Linked DNA regions of Homo sapiens: regions 2 and 3 are each linked to region 1. Evidence: promoter capture Hi-C in 16 types of primary human blood cells and fetal thymus (Javierre and others, 2016). All regions are on one chromosome and are shown on one strand. Each heading gives the region's core, a stretch centred on a gene start or on the middle of the fragment in contact. The rest is flanking DNA. Distances are from core to core; before and after follow the strand shown. Region 1 holds the start of UBE2E3 (ubiquitin conjugating enzyme E2 E3). Region 2 overlaps NUP35 (nucleoporin 35). Region 3 holds the start of NCKAP1 (NCK associated protein 1).

Region 1 (3,157 bases), core at 238-2,737:
ATTCTATCTGTTCATTCTGAGTGGAATATCCTTACTACTTATGAACCTAGCGAACTTTAATGAACTGTTCCCCTTCTGGACTAGGAGCTCTTAGCACAGAGTAGAGACCTGGCTTTAGTCACACAGCAATTGAATGAGTGTATGTCCAGCACCTAGCAACATATAGCCCTCAATAAAGTTAACTGAATGACTGTGTCTTTGGAAAATTATGGAAATGTAACTTACTCTTTAGAGTTGCTATCAAGCCTTTACCAAAAGTTTTCTATTAGGAGAAATAGTAAGCAAATACGTTGGCTCACTCAGTCTTTTCTTCTTTCCCTTAACTCTATACATCTTTTGACTGCCATTCTCACTCCCTTTGTGAACTGCACATTCTCACAGCACCCCTGCCCCTGGACACTTGTGGGAGAGGAATCCACAAATTCCTTTGAGGCTCCATCACCGGAACAAGTTCTCAGTAGCTGGAGAAGGCCTGGGTGGCAAACAGGAAGTTTTTGTATTCTGGCTACTTTGTGCCGTGGGGTAAAAACCGCAGAGTCCACCTGGAGACTGCAAAAAGAATGGTAGAACAAACAAAACTGTCACTATCTCCACCTAAAGCTTTTCTGGGTGGACATTCTGACTCAACATCACTCAGAACTTTTCTTTCCAGAACTGGCTCCTCATGTGCAAGACAGAAGAGTCCCGCAGAAAAGTGTCATGTTTTAGCTCTCATCGCCACCCCCCAACCCCAAACTCTTCTCCTTCACTTTTAAGAATGTTGAGCGGGACATTTTAAACACTGTTTTGGATTTTTAAGGTTTCAAATAATCCGAAGGACACTTCCCTTTGGCAGCGACAGTTGCAAGCTATGAGCCAAAAAGAAATAGAGGTTGTTCCCCTAATCTCCAAATACATTCTACCCTCTTCAATTCCCAGGACCCCAACTTGTCCCTTCCTCCAGCTTACGCGAGGGGCAAGTGGCAGCTCTTCTCCGCCTGCGTGCCTGGCCTCGTCAACAACACCCATTAGTCTCCCGTCTCCCGGGGCGGCGGGGGACTCCCAACCACGCGCCCAGGGCCCTTGCCCAGGTACTGGGGCCCCGGGAGCCACGACGGCCCCCGCGCAGGCGGATGGGATGGAACCAGCCCTGGGGACGCGGGTAGCCCAATGGGCAGCCTCGCCCCGGAGGCGGGCCCAGGCCGGAAGCCACCCCGCGGCACAGCGGCCCCGCGATACGGTGCCCGCGCCCCCGCCTTCTCTGGCACAGGCTCCGCGGCCAAGGGCGGCAGGGGCCAGCCCGCCGGGTCCCCGCCGCGCTCTTTGTCCTGGCCGCGCGCGGGCGGACGCGTGCACCCCCAGGGTGAGGGGAGGTGTGGAGAGCGCGCACGGGAGCGCGCGGGAACAGCTCGCGCCCGCCGGGCGTCGGCGGCGCGCGCCCCTCCGCCAGGCAAGCAGCGAGCACGCGCGTCGCCGCCGCGCCCGCCCCTCCCCCCCGCGCTCGCCTCGGAACTTGCTGACTGCGCGGCCGGGAGGAGCCGAGCCGGGCGGCGGCGGCGGGAGGCTACAGCGCGCGGGGGTCTCCCGCGTCCCCTCCGCCTCGCCGGGAGCTCGCGCCCTCGCCCAGCCGAGCTCCCACCCCCGCTTTTTTCCGAAGGCGCTGGGCGGCGCCACCCTCCGGCCGGAGCCCGGCACTGCACAACCCCCTCCGACTTTCAATGTTCCACACTCCCCGGCCAGAGCCTCCTCGGCTTCTTTTTTTCCCTCCCCCCCCTTCCCCCCCCCACAGCTGCCTCCATTTCCTTAAGGAAGGGTTTTTTTCTCTCTCCCTCCCCCACACCGTAGCGGCGCGCGAGCGGGCCGGGCGGGCGGCCGAGGTAAGGCGGCGGGGCCGGGGGGCCGCGTGGGGGGCGGCCGGGGCGGCGGCGGCGGTGGGGGAGGGGGCGGGGGCGGGCAGCTTTGTTCGCGCCGGGCGCCCGCGTCGCCGGTGTCCGCGAGCCGCGGCGGGGCCGGCTGGGCTGCTCGCATCACTTGGCGCCCGGCGCGGCGAGCGCTACCCGCGGCCCCCGCGCGGCCCTCCCCACAAAGGGCCGCGGAGCTGCGTGGCCGCCGCCGCCGGCCGTGGCTCGCCTCCGCGGGCGCGGAAATTTGTTGCACTTCTTGGGGCTTTGTTTATTTGTTTGTTTTTTCTCTGGGTTTCTTATTTTTTTCGTTATTTTGGACAAAATGTCGGTCCGTGATATAAAAATTGAGCGAGGAACCTTGGTGGCATTGGGAGCTTTGCAGAAGGTGCAGTTTGAATTCTGCTTTTCCCAGGGTGGCAGCTCGGTCTTGGCCGGATGAATCTTCGCTGCTGGCCGTGGAAACAGCTAGAGCAGCTCGTTAGTTGATTTTTAAATTTCCAAGTGTTGTGTTTAAAGGCTTTACGTGCACTGAGGAGGAATCGCCACCTTAAATAAGCATATGGGCGATTAACAGGGTGTGTTTTCCTCTCGGAAAGGGAATTTGGTAGCTTTGACCAATGTCAGTGTGTAAATATTTAGACGTTATTAGTGACTTTTAAACATTTTTCAGCGAGATCTGTTATTTACAGTGTGTCATATGTTATTAATGCTTGTTGCCTAAGTTCCTTGGCAAATCTGTTTCATGCCTTCTGAGAAAGTAGACAATTGATAGATTGTCCAAGAGACGGAAAAAAATGTGAGTGGGTTTTCTAACTTGAGTTCGGCAAATCCCTTAACGCTGGCGTTGTGTGACACATCACCTCCCTTGTACGTACCCCTGTTGTACGATGAAATAAGTGTGAACACTTTTGAAGCTTTTTCATTACAAGACGATTTTAGATGACTAGAAGAAAATGCTGTTGGTTTATTTCCTAGATTTAACATTTTCTCCTCCTCCTCCCCTGTTCTCTTTAAAAGTTTTCCAAGAGATAACTTCACCAAGATGTCCAGTGATAGGCAAAGGTCCGATGATGAGAGCCCCAGCACCAGCAGTGGCAGTTCAGATGCGGACCAGCGAGACCCAGCCGCTCCAGAGCCTGAAGAACAAGAGGAAAGAAAACCTTCTGCCACCCAGCAGAAGAAAAACACCAAACTCTCTAGCAAAACCACTGCTAAGTTATCCACTAGTGCTAAAAGGTAATGTGTAAAAGAAGGATCCAGCACACTTTGTCAGG
Region 2 (3,157 bases), core at 475-2,974, 2.1 Mb after region 1:
GTATTCTGAATATCTGTTAAGAATATGCTTTTGTTTAGACTTTTGGTTTGATTTTAGTGGATCTTCTTACGAAATATTTCTACAGTGCCATGTAACATAGTAACTAGCACTTTATAAAATAATTACAATGTAATTAGAGTTTTTCACACCTTGTTTTAGCATTTGCTTTATCCATTTATTGAATTTGTTTTTTTTTTTGTCTTTTATACACTTGTATTGTTAATATCTAGGCCTAATATAATGGGAAATAAGAGGAAGACTAAATAGTTGGCAGCTTTCGGATATTAAGAAACAGATTGTTAAGGCCATCTAGAAGTTAAGTAATAGTTAATAAAAAACCATACAAATAACATAGCAAACATTTGACCCTTCTGAGTGCAATGAGTCACACTCAGGCTTGTCACCTAGTTGAAAATTATTTTCATAAGCAGAGATTGCAAATTCTACATTTATACTTTACTCAGTTTTTGCTATTATAAAATATTTGTAGAAAATAATAATTCGTATTTATTGAGCACCTGTGTATCAGGTACCAGGTCAAGCTATACTTGCTATAATTCTAACAAAAGCTCTGTTAGTGGATGCTAGCTATGCTTATTCCCTTTTACTGAGAGAACTTGAACCCACATCTTTGACTCCATAGCCCATTGTTTTCCTTATTCTGCTATTTTGCTCTGAAATTAGAATTATATAGCTCACTCATCTTCATAAGGGAAATAATATCTACTCTATAGATTGTGAGGATTTATTTTGTATCAATTGTGAGGTTTCAGTTCTCTAAGTTGGCTTTATATTAGGGGGATATTTAATGATGATTCTTTAATTTTTTTTTTTTTTTAAATAAAAAAGATGAGATCTCAGTGTGTTGCCCAGGCTGGTCTTGAACTCCTGAGCTCAAGTGATCCTCCTGCCTTGGCCTCCCAAAGTGCTAGGATTGCAGGCGTGAGTCACCATGCCCAGCTGTGATTATTCTTGACTTAAACTAATGATTAAGAAAAAAGATACAAAAATAAGTTTTCGACTCTTTTCAACATGTTTCTGAGTTAGGGTGCTAGTTATCACTGTTATTTTGTAAGTGCTCTAATATATGCATGGTTACGGTTTTATCACAATAATGATGAACTTTTTATGGGGAAGAAAAAGAAACAATTTAGCAAGCTTAACCCATTGTGTTTGATATGCTAAGCTTTGTATGTATAAGTAGTGCAGCCTGTCCTTGTTTTTGGTTGTTACATAGTCCAAACTGATTCGGAAATGGAAAGAAGTTATTAGTGTGATTTTTAAACCCCTGAAATAATGTAAACAAAAATAGCTGTCACAGATAAATATTGTGCTGCCAGGTGTACTGGCTTCACACCTTTAATCTCAGCACTTTGGGAGGCCAAGGCTGGTGGATCACCTGAGCTCAGGAGCTCCAGAGCAGTCTGGGCAGCATGGTGAAACCCCATTTCTGCAAAAAAATACAAAAATTAGCTGGGCGTGGTGGTGCAGGCCTGTAGACTTAGCTACTGAGAGGCTGAGGAGGGAGGATCGCTTGAGCCTAGGAGGTGAAGGTTGCAGTGAGCTGAGATTGCGCCACTGCACTCCAGCCTGGTGACAGAGTGAGACTCGGACTCAGAAAAAAAAAAAAAGTGAATACAAGATAACTTTACATTTTTCTAGAAATATTTTTTGTTGGCTTTTAAAATAATAAATTCAACTATGGTTCTATTATATCTAAAAGTTTTGATTAAATTTGCAAAATTATGTTAGATTCTTGCATGTTTTTGTCATCAACATGTAACAGAAACTGTAACAGAAAAGTCCTTAATTTATTTTTTGATTCATGTAGGATCTGAACCAATGATGCTGGGTTCACCCACATCTCCAAAGCCAGGAGTTAATGCCCAGTTCTTACCTGGATTTTTAATGGGGGATTTGCCAGCTCCGGTGACTCCACAACCTCGATCAATTAGTGGCCCTTCAGTAGGAGTAATGGAAATGAGATCACCTTTACTTGCAGGTAGGTGAATTGCTTAAAATAATTTTATAGACATGCTAGATACAGGGATGTCCAATTTTTTGGCTTCCCTGAACCACATTGGAAGAAGAATTGACTTGGGCCACACATAAAATACAGTAACTCTAATAATAGCTGATGAGCTAAAAAAAAAAAAAAATGCAAAAAAAATCTTAAAATGTTTTAAGAAAGTTTACCAATTTGTGTTGGGCAACATTCAAAGCCATCCTGGGCTTCATGCGGTGTTCAAGCCATGGGTGGGACAAGCTTGTGCTAGAATTTTTAAAAGTGTAGTGGTGCAGCATTCACCCTCATCAATACATTAATTAAAAAAAATTAAGCAATGTGTCTATTATAAAGCAAAGCTTTTAAGGCTCTTGGAATAGAGGTGTAAGAAGTATAAGCTATAATTTCTAGAGCCACTAAAATGTATTCTATGTTTTTTTCATTCTAAGATGCCTTTGAATTGGCTTTTAAGTACCACTAGGAAAGATAACCCTAAATATGACACAATGCTAAGATGCCATTTTTTGTAAAATTTCTGTGTCGGAGATGTCAGAGTGTGGTGGGGGAAGAGTGCCTCACAGAGTTGATGAAATACCATCATTTAGCTTCAACTGAATTCATTTAAAGTAATTCATCTTAAGATACAAGAATAGGAAATAATCGGTCAAAAGAAGTGTAACTTGAAGATGTAGATACGAATTCTGCCTTTAGTCTTAGTGAATTGAGATTCTCACATATAGCGTGTTTAAGGAAACTTGGGGGGGAGGTTTTATACACAGAATTTGTGATTGTCAGGGCAAAGTATTGTAAATGCAGCCTGTGTTTATTACAGAACTCCTTTAGCAAAGAAATACTTTAAAAAATGACTTCGAAGTTTTAACTGAGTAGTGAGAATTAGATACAGAAGTGTTGAATTCTAATTGTGAGCTAATATCCTTTAGTAGTAGTTCAAGTGAAAACTCTTTTTACCTTAATTGCCCTTTAAAGTATTTTTGCTTTAAAATGGTTTATTATTTAGGATTTATCAGGGAGAATTATAAATTATATTTGAAGTAATTCATTTAACATTAAACATTAAATTTCAAATGTGTTATTTTATTATGGTAGCCAACGTATATTGATTGCTTATGAGCCTGGCAGTATGCTAATCAT
Region 3 (3,157 bases), core at 192-2,691, 2.1 Mb after region 1:
TTACCAACCTTGCCTTAAGGGGAGAGATTTTGTTGTTTTGTCCTACGATAATGAATGTAATTATTTGTTCTATCTTTACATGGACTTTTCTAAACTTCCAGTGGTCTTCCACTCCTTACTGTACTGAGGACATGTAAAAGCCTTTAAATGGGCCTATTAGCTATAGTTGCTCAAATTATCAGACTATGCTATAAATCAGCAGCAATTGCAACATTTTTACGGTTTTTATTTTGTACAGACACCGAACTTTAAGAAATGGTATTGGAAAATCTAACATGAGGAGGAGTACAGGGGAAAGAGTAGAAGGTTGTTATTCCAGTTCTAGTGACTCACAGCCTAGAAGTATTTCAGAAAATTGGTTCCACCCTCACTTCCCCCTCCTCTCCACCTTCAAAATGAAATAATCCCAAATCGTCAACACACTCTCAATGGCTTTTTATTTAGCAATCTAAAATAAAGTGGCAAAGTGGAGGGGATACGGGATTCATCCAATCAGCCCTTCTCTACCCACATTCCCACACCAAAAAATGGGGATGTGGGGTGTAATCCCTGTTCACTGCTGCCATCTCCGTAAGAATATGGAACACTCAAGTTTTCCTACCCACCTAGAATTTCGCCCACCCACCACCCTCCCTTTCCTATGGGCCCCATCATGGGGGCGGGGGCGCCGAGGAGGGGACAGCTCCCGGCTCCCAGCGGCGCCCCCACCCCGTGCGAGGCCCAGCGCCCGATCCCGCCGCCGGGAGCCGGGAAATGGCTTCTCTGCCTTCGGCCGGCCGGCGAACCACAGGGAGAGGCGCCCGGGACTCCGCATTAGGCCGCGGCGCATCCAGGCGACCCCGGGCCGGGCCTCGGGCGGCGACGCCGAGATTTCTACACCCGGCGCCTCCTGCCGCCCCCACCCCACGGCCTCCCTTGCCCTTCATCCCTCCCGGGCCCGCCCGCCTCCGCCGCGGCCTCCCCGGCCCGTGCGCACCTTCTTGATGTTGTAGAGGCGGGTGAGCATGCCGACGCCCCGGTCGTTGAGGATGGTGAGCTTCTCCGCCAGCTTCTGCTGACTGGGCTGCAGCACTGAGCGCGACATGGTGGTGCTGGTGCCGCCGCCGCCGCCGGCCGCCTCGCGCCCAGTCACGGGCCCGCGGCCTTCGCAGCAGCCTCTCTCGGGCCTCCTCCCCTCCCGCCCGCGACCTCCGCCTTAGGAGAGCGCGCCCATGGCCCTCGCGCCCCAATCCCGCGCCGGCGACAGAGCGAGCCGCGGCGGACTCCTCGGAGCCCCTTCTCCCGCAGCAGCCCGCGCCCCGGCAGCCTCCTGCCTTCCGCCCGCCGCCCTTCCGCCCCCACCCCCGGCGCTCTCCGCCCCAGCCCCCAACGAGCCGCCTTCCCCGGCTGCTCCACTAGGTGTGGCGGCGGCGGCGGCGGCGGCGGCGTCTCCGGCGGCTGAGAACGAGGCCGCTTCCCGCAGCCCCGGACGGGCCCTCGGTCACCTGATCGGCAGCGCCGGCGCCCCCGCGAGGCCGGACGGGGAACTGCGGCCGACGGGCCCTCGGCATGGCCTCGCCGCCGCCGCTCTGGCCCTGGCCCTGGCCCGGACCGCCCACTACGCCTGATGCCGGGATGGGAGTCCCAAGCGGGGACTGAGTGGGGTCGCGTTGTGTGCTCTTTCCACTTCGCCCCACACCCCACTCCTTCAAGTTCCCAAAAGTTGCTTTTCCGCACCACCCTTCTAAAGAAACCGGCAGAAACTCTGCTGGGAGGCGGGGTGTTTTCCAGGCGAGTTTCGCTTAAGAGTGGGCTGGTGGCTCCAAGCGCTTTTTCCTCCCACTGCTTGACAGGCGCTCGCCGCAGAACACAGCAGATGTTGTGCTCCGCGAGGTGGGGATCGCCTCTGCCAGCCTCCCCAGCCCATCCTCAGTCTCCCCGCCTGGAACCAGTTTGTGAGAGAGGAGGTCGGAAGTGAGGGTAACTCAAGTCCTTGAGATAATCACAATCTAGACTTTGTCGGCGAGGAGCACCCATCCGGAGGAGACGCAGTAGGTCCTGGCATGTGGAAGGCAAAAAATAAATGTTTGTTCAATGCCTAAAGGAACCGCTCCCATTTTTTTACAGCCTCCACCCTAAATCCCACTTCTTCTTGGAAACATTCTTCTTTGCCATCTCATTTTTCCTGATCAATTTCTTCTTAGCGACACTCCAAGGCTACTCCCTTGTCAAATGTATTAGACATGATTCCAAAAGTGAACTAACTGAGGACTTACGTAATTGAGGTGAGAAACTTCAGCCAAGAGGACTCAGGCCTCTAATATTTTTGGCTTTGCCTTTTCTCGATATGTTAATTTTTTATATTATATTCATTAATTTTAAGTCAGTAACAAAATGTCCCGCCACATTCAATAAGACATTCTAAGAGTAATAAGCCATCACTGGATTTATCAAAACTCTTTAAGAAAAGGAAATTGTAATGAATAGCTTTAAAATATTTTTTAAAGCTACTATATCTACTATTCGTAAAGAAATCTTCATTTTAATATTCCAACAAGAAAGAAGGAGTGGACTGAATGGATTTAATCTAAGGGGCATTTAAAAGAGTCCTGTTCCCACCAAAAGAAGTCATAATCATACCTGCCAGTGTGCCTGAAATTCTATATACAAAGCTGCAGTACCTTGAATGAATGCTTTGTACCTAGAGAGTCTTAAGAATACAAACACTTCAGAGAGATCATCTGTCGAGCTATTACTAGTCATTAACTGGTCAAGGAATTTAATTTATCTGGTTACTTCTCAGCCTGATAGTTAACATTTTAATTTAGAGGAGGCAAGGTTGTGGGGCCTGGAATAGTAAGGGCAGACCTGAGAAGGGGAGGCTGCGAGGAGGGGTTTGGGGTAGCCAGATAAGAAAATTTAAAAATGTTGAACATTGGGGAAATATGTGCTCCTTTAGGGAGACTACAAATAACTAAGTCTAGACGCAGAATTACAGAGTGCTACCAATAAAAGATTGTCTCATTTTCTAGTTTTTAAAAACTGCTGTATAGGGAGAACAAGAAAATGGCACTGTATTATAAATTTGAACACAACTCTTACTCCCCAAGAAAAACTATCATGTTGCCATATAAACTTGAATACTAGTAGCTGCTTATAACTCAGGAAGTACCCAATA

The links. The method cuts DNA at HindIII sites, captures the fragments that hold promoters and counts their contacts. A CHiCAGO score of 5 or more calls a contact.
Region 2: a fragment that was not itself captured here is called in contact with the fragment with the promoter of UBE2E3 in region 1 in 1 of 17 cell types (activated CD4 T cells); the score reaches 5.1 in activated CD4 T cells.
Region 3: the fragment with the promoter of NCKAP1 here is called in contact with the fragment with the promoter of UBE2E3 in region 1 in 10 of 17 cell types (activated CD4 T cells, fetal thymus, naive B cells and 7 more); the score reaches 15.6 in activated CD4 T cells.

What each region holds. Positions count from the first base shown.
Region 1 is chr2:180,979,118-180,982,274 of GRCh38, forward strand. It overlaps UBE2E3 (ubiquitin conjugating enzyme E2 E3), which reads left to right and starts at 1,488. Exons shown (of 6, transcript NM_006357.4): 1 at 1,488-1,856; 2 at 2,901-3,119. The coding sequence starts at 2,926. It overlaps UBE2E3-DT (UBE2E3 divergent transcript), which reads right to left and starts at 1,895. Exons shown (of 2, transcript NR_187176.1): 1 at 949-1,895; 2 at 1-549. RefSeq lists a silencer at 906-1,765. The HindIII fragment of the contact is 2,197 bases long and covers 599-2,795 here.
Region 2 is chr2:183,126,456-183,129,612 of GRCh38, forward strand. NUP35 (nucleoporin 35) reads left to right here. Exons shown (of 9, transcript NM_138285.5): 2 at 1,832-2,002. Among named protein-coding and RNA genes, the nearest start is that of NUP35, 3.6 kb to the left of the region's middle. The HindIII fragment of the contact is 1,080 bases long and covers 1,185-2,264 here.
Region 3 is chr2:183,037,016-183,040,172 of GRCh38, forward strand. It overlaps NCKAP1 (NCK associated protein 1), which reads right to left and starts at 1,442. Exons shown (of 31, transcript NM_013436.5): 1 at 977-1,442. The coding sequence starts at 1,084. RefSeq lists silencers at 862-981, 1,042-1,631, 1,364-2,015. The HindIII fragment of the contact is 8,317 bases long and covers 1-3,157 here.